Regions from separate parts of the Homo sapiens genome. Here region 1 is linked to region 2. The links are contacts of gene promoters, found by promoter capture Hi-C in human tissues and cell types (Jung and others, 2019). All regions are on one chromosome and are shown on one strand. The core of a region is centred on a gene start or on the middle of the fragment in contact, and the rest is flanking DNA. Distances in the headings are between cores, read along the strand shown.

Region 1 (3,133 bases), core at 93-2,592, 1.1 Mb after region 2:
TGCCATGATTTGCCATCTTCATTACTAACAGGATGTAGGAAGCTTTCATGGGTGAACAGTGGCCCAGATATCCCTCCCCTCGAACTCAAAGGCCCTTTTTGTTTGTTTGCTTTTTACACCAGAGTGAAGGATAAAAAGTGGAAGAGTTATATGTTTGTTTTTGATTATTTGGAAAACTTTCCGATTTTAGCAGAATGTCTGCCTACAAGTAAAGAGGATCTGTGAATGAAGAAAAGGAATGGTTTGATTACCTTTTTAAAGATTATCCCCATAGGCAAGGCAGGCCTGAGAGTGCGCTCTGGGAGAGAAAGTTCAGTTTGGGGTTCCCTTTTAACTAACTGGGTAATACAGTATTGAGAGATTGACTCTTCATAGGAAATCTTCAAAAACCTGGCTACAGAACGTCTTTTTTTGAGGAAAATGATTTCCCTGCCATTGAACCCTAGCTAAGCAAGACTTTTGAGATTGCTTTAATCATCAGCGGCTTCAGTGTCTTGGTAGTGAGTGAAAACGGGATTAGGGTGGAATAAGGGGGAGAAGTTTCCAGTGACCCGTGGTGAACCAGTGTTAAGAGACCTCCCCCCTTCAAATAGGCCCTGCATGTGTAAAAGTCAATTTCTACTTTATGAGGGATTAGAACCAGAGAGCGGCTCATATTTAAACCCTGCAAAGATAAGGAACGGTGAGTTTACCCCAAATTAGCTTTCAAAATAGCTCTGATCTAGTAATTTGCCCAGTAATTTCCCCAGACTGGGGCAGGTCTGAAGAATTTAAAAAGAGGAGGAAGTGGTATCTGATAAACCTATGGTTTAGGATAGCTGAATTTGGGGTGGAGGGGGGAGTGGAGGAAGAAGGTAAAAGAAGAGGAAGAAATGTGGGGAAGGGAGAGAGAGAGGAGGGAGAGAGAGAGAGGGAGAGAGAGAGAGAGAGAGAGAGAGAGAGAGAGAGAGAGATCGAACTCCACCAGGTTGCCTTCATTTCCCCGCAAGATTTCACCCACTATGAGCTTCGGTTGTTGCTTTGTTTATGCAAAGTTAGTCGGCCTGAGACACAGGGAAAGTGCTGAGATCCACGCTGAAGAACGCAAAAATGATTTTTAAAATGTAAATGAAACCACGCACACACACACACGCACACACACACTGGGTCGGGGCAATCCCTGCCCGTAGACTTAGAAATGAAAACACGCCGAGGAGGGCGGGCGGGAGGCCGCGGCAGCAGCGGGGAGCGTTGTCGGTGACCGAAGGAGCTCTGGTGAATATCAGGTTCGGATTAGTGACAACTCAGAAGTCACGCCGGCGGTTGGGGGAGGGAAGTTTGCCAAGGTCTCAGAACTCGACGGAAGAGACAGCGGCTTCCCTTGGCGCCGGGCGGAGCGGGGCGTACGCAGAGAGACCTCTGTCCCGGCCCGAGCCAGCTCACCCCCAGCTCTCACACCCCGCCCTGAGATTGAGTTTGTCAGCGATCATAAAATGGGAATTGATTATTCCAGCCACCATTGATTAGGGAAGAATGCTTACTGCAGCAGCGGGGAAAAGGTTAAGAGGAAATTGACCTTCTTCCTAGGTGACATAAAGTCATTAGGTAAATGAGATATTCACACTGGAGTTTTAAAAGGTCACGCTCAATTTTTATTTGTAGCCTGAAGAGTCAAGCTGGAGCTGGGGCTTAGGGCAGGGACCCCGCTCTTCTGGACAAGCAGACCGACAGGGAGACAACTGTCTTGCTGCGCTGGGCAGGGCCAAGGTGGGAGGTGGGTTATTGTCTGGGGAGGATCGCACTGGAATTGGTGGAGTCCCGGGCCCCCGAACTCTGCGCCTCCTGCCTGACCCGTGTGTGCGCCTCTGTGCATGTGTCCCTCTGGGGCCCTGCGCTTCGCGCGGCGTCTCCTCCGTTCCAGTCACCCGTCAGCAAAGGGATGCCGGGCAGAGGCAGACGATTACAAACACTTACCCTACCATAGCCGGCCACGTATCACACAGAGTGAAAGTGTTTTGTTTTGTTTTTTAAGGAGAGGGTGAGAGATATATTTATGCACATATTTATCCCTCTAATTATAGGAATTAATCCTCTTACTTATGACTAAAAGGTAACGTGGAAGGACGTCTCTTTGATGTGGAAAAGCACCATTTGTGACTCACATTCAGACTGATTAAGGAATAATTGTTGTTAAACGCTTTACAAGAGGAGAGTGTTTAATTGAGGGGCATTCGTAATTTTACGGCTTAGTACGAAATTAAACGTAATTAAAAACTCAGAAATTCCAACTGATTTTCCAATTATTTTTATTGTCTGAGTTAATTATTACACAAGGGTATCACTTTGCCCTAAAGGCATTTTTTTAAAAAGCAAGCATACCTTTTCCAAATATAGCAGAGAAGCGATTCAAAGCTTTCTCCAGGTACAAGCCTGGTAAAGGACCTTCCTTCTTCACTCCCCTCTCCTTCGGTCCCCCGCGCGCCCCTCCTTCGCCTCCGGTAATTAAGCGTTTCAGCCACTCTCCCCTCTCTCTGAGTTCCTGCAACACCTTGGGATGTGAGAAAGTGATGGCAGTTCTCTTCTGCAGATCATTACAGCAAAACTGGAAGTATCTGTAGAAGGCTGATGAATTTCTTGCAGTAACACTTGTCATACATGGCGGCGAGATTTTTTTTAAAACAAGCTAAGTAAACACAGCTCTCTGGGGGCGATCCCTCGATGCCTCTGCCTTGGGGTGTGTGGCAGGAGGGAGGTAACACCCAAGTACCGACTGGAAGTTGTTTATAAACTCGCACACGAAGACGTACAGATGCACGCTGGAAACTTTCTTTGGTTTGCACTTCTATTTCTTTATTTATTTACTTATTTGAAAGAAGGATGGGTATGAAAGAGCTTCTCAGTTAGATTATGAATGTTTTTTTAATGCTGGGATTGACGGCAAAAAGCCAAGCTATGTTTGTATGTGTAGCTTCTTTAAATGTCCAAATAGACTTATTTAAGTACATCAAAAGGTTTACAGAAAGTGCTTCAGTGTTATGGAAATGAAAACACATCCTCACAGCTAGTCCAGAAGTGGCCCTGTCTTCCCTATCAGACTTGGGTATCTTTCCTATCAAACCCTGAAAAAAAATAAATAAAAAACATAAAATTGGGG
Region 2 (3,122 bases), core at 248-2,747:
GCCTTTCTCTAGCTATTTTACGTTAAACAGGACTCGGTACAGACTTTAAAAAGTTATTTCAAAAAGGTCTGACTTTAGTAATGCACTGTATTTAAAGGAATGCATCCAAATGACTAAGTCCTAACTCACTTAACTCTTTCCAACCCTCCGAAGATAAACAAAAGTTGAACTTAATTACAAGAAAACGGATGCTAATATTCTGCTTGGAATTAAATCCCTTCTCAATAGAAAAGTGTTGCCAACCATTATTTCTCCACGCAGCTGTCACGTTAAAGCAAAACATTTAAAAGACGAAGTATTTCGTTTGGAAAGCAAGGAGAAAGCCCAAATAAGCTAAAACTTAAACCGGAATGCTCTAAAAGTTAATGAAATCACCAACATATTCAGCAATGTAAATTCGGTTACATCAACGTAAATCATGTGTTTTCACATAGCTGAAAGGTAAAAATTAGCATTCAAAATTCTTCTCCGTTCCTGAAGACACGTCCAATATTCACAAAGGTAAACTCTAGCTCAACATCGCCCACACTCCAGGTGTCCTTAATCCTATTAAATTCTAAAAATGTTTCCCTAACCCTATTTTTTACAAGAATCTTACAGGTCATAAGTTTAAAAGGGGGAGGGGGGAGAGGGTGAAGGCTTAATCGGTATTTAAGAGTCACTGACTCATCGAATTAAGATTCAAGAGCAGTTTGCTGCAGGAGGTGCTCCCACACATTAGTTTCCAAGTGAAACAGCTATAAAGGAAGTAGGATGGATACTGAAGGTATGGTGACTGGTATGTGAGTGAAAAAGGACGGGACAGGGGTCTCACAGGCAAAGGGGTAGTTTCTACTCCACTTCCATCCATCCACATTATTCCCTCTCATAGACGTACAATTGCCATCCTCTCCCAACACTTAATCCCCTACCCCAAAAGAAAGCAGCTAAATGTGGGAGGATGGGGAGGGGTGCTGCCACTAAAAATGGCTAAAGAAATCAGCTATCTCCAGAAGATGCACCGAACTCTCCAGGGTCGCAAGCTTTCCGGCACCCAAGTTTCGGATGGGTCTGGGGGAGAGCCGAGGGCGGATAGGGGGAGGGGGATTAGCAATCGAGATCAATGAGGCGCTTACTCGTTGTCAGAAGTCGCCGTCTCCTCGCTCATCTTTCCCTCACCGTGATCCGATCTGGAGATGGAGGAGCAACAGCAGGCGGGGGAGCAACAGCAGCACCGAGGGGCAGGAGGCAGCGGCGGCCGGGGGGGCGCGGGGGCAGCGGCACAGGGGCCTCACCATGGTGGATGCCTCACCCAGAACGGTACCCCCCCAGCCGGGAACCCCGGCCACCCCCGCAGGGGGGTGGCGGCAGCAACCTCCGCCGTGGCGACCCCAGCCTCTTCCCCCGCCTCAGTGCCCAGCCAAGGGATCCGAGGAGGCCCGGTGGAAAGGGAAAAAGAGAGGGGCTGCAAAGGCTGACTGGAGAGCTGCTCCTCCAGCCACTGGGGTGGAGCGCAGCGGGGTCCGGCCAGGAAGGAGTCGGCGGGCGGAGAACCCGGGAGCAGAGGCGGCGCTTCCCTCAGGGATGCGGCGAGGAGGAAGCAGAGCTCCGCTCGGTGGGGGCCGGCGGGGGGGTGCCGAGCCCAGGCTCCGGGCAGCGGCGGCGCGGTCCTGCCGGAGCCCACCCCACCATCTCCCGCCTCGCCGCCGGCTGCCCCTCAACCCCCGGCGGCGTCTGGGTCGGTCCTCAGGCGCCGGCAGAGCAGGGCTAGGGGCCCCGCGGCGGCGGATTCCTCCAGACACGCTCCAGCCGGGACTCCTCCTCAGGGGGGTGGAGGGGGCGGCGGGGAGCGTGTGAGGCGAGGGGCAGGCAAACCGATCGTTCCCACCCGGCCGGAGAAGAGCGGGCGGGCCCGGGTCCGGGGGGCAGGATCCCGAGAAGCGGCGGGAGAGGACAAGAGCGGCTGCAGGTTCCCCGCCAGCCAGTGCCCACCAGCAGCTCAGCGGGCCAGCTCCTCACGCCCGAGAGAGGGGAGCCGCGAGGGGGGCGGCGGAAGCGCTCACGCCGCCCGCTCCTTCCGCCGCCGCAGCCGCTGCCCGAACCGGGGGCGCCCGCGAGAGAAGGAGGCGAAGTAGTCCCTCGCGACTTCTCCCGGCCGCCCGCTTTCCCCGGAGGCCAGAGCGGGCGCGGGGTGGGGCTGCCGAGCGGGGTGCCCAGGCTGTGAGGGTGTGTGGGTAGGACTAAAAGCCGCGGCCTCCGGGCGAATCACTGCAACTCGAAGTCATGTGCAGCATAGCAAGTTTCAGGAAAGTAGTTCCCTCCTCCCTTCATTTCCCAAATCGTTGTCGAGCCACTTAGCGGAGAAAGGGGGAGGGAGGCGGAGGGATATCCTCCCTGCACCGTGCTCGGTGTGCGTGCGCGCGCTCCAAACTCTTGGCACGCCGCGAAAGGGGGCGGGGGTGGGAGCTGCGAGGGGAGCTGCTAGGGAGGTTGCATTGTTGTGGCGCGTTACTCCCCGTTACTCTGCTTGGAATATCCGGGTTGCTTGAACGAAGAGGCTAGAAAGACAGTGTGCTCAGAGGGGAAATCTGGAGGCTACTCTCTTCTGCCGTGTGTGTGTGTGTGTGTGTGTGTGTGTGTGTGTGTGTGTGTGTGTTTTCTTTGCAGAGCAAAGAATGGAACTGGCATGAGTTCATCTTTAGTTAGTGGGGGTTAGAAGCAGGGACTGCAAAGAGAGCTCCTCCTGCTGTCCCCCTGGTTGCACTGCTGCAGTCCCCTAGCTGCATGCACGAAGTGTATGTGTGTGTGTGTGTGTGTGTGTGTGTGTGTGAGAGAGAGAGAGAGAGAATATGAGAATGTATGTGTGTTTTAACACCTCGCCTCGCTGCCTGGATTCTTACTGCGCAAGGGGTATGCTATCAGGGCATTCATCTCGGAAAGCTGGAGTGATTGTTAATGGAGAACGACTTCCATTGAAGCCCAGGGTAGGCGTGTTACATGAATCTGGCGCAGCCAGAACGGAGGAAATAACTCCCGCTGCGAGTGAGGTTGCATAACTATAGCGCAGGAGATGCTTCTGTGGCACGAACTGCTCTGAACGGAGGCGGACCGATTGGATAGACAGCTGTCACGAATGCATTGTT

Evidence for each region. The method cuts DNA at HindIII sites, captures the fragments that hold promoters and counts their contacts. A contact is called where the count stands out against the background at its distance.
Region 1: a fragment that was not itself captured here is called in contact with the fragment with the promoter of SPRED1 in region 2 in 1 of the 25 tissues and cell types used here (dorsolateral prefrontal cortex).

Annotation. Positions count from the first base shown.
Region 1 is chr15:37,109,120-37,112,252 of GRCh38, reverse strand. It overlaps LOC124903465 (a long non-coding RNA gene), which reads right to left. Exons shown (of 2, transcript XR_007064581.1): 2 at 2,269-3,133. Among named protein-coding and RNA genes, the nearest start is that of MEIS2, 10 kb to the right of the region's middle. RefSeq lists a silencer at 1,836-1,885. The HindIII fragment of the contact is 4,400 bases long and covers 1-3,133 here.
Region 2 is chr15:38,251,211-38,254,332 of GRCh38, reverse strand. It overlaps SPRED1 (sprouty related EVH1 domain containing 1), which reads right to left and starts at 1,497. Exons shown (of 7, transcript NM_152594.3): 1 at 1,116-1,497. The coding sequence starts at 1,147. RefSeq lists silencers at 1,288-1,337, 1,348-1,407, 1,588-1,687, 1,788-1,837, 1,848-2,147 and 2 more. The HindIII fragment of the contact is 9,791 bases long and covers 1-3,122 here.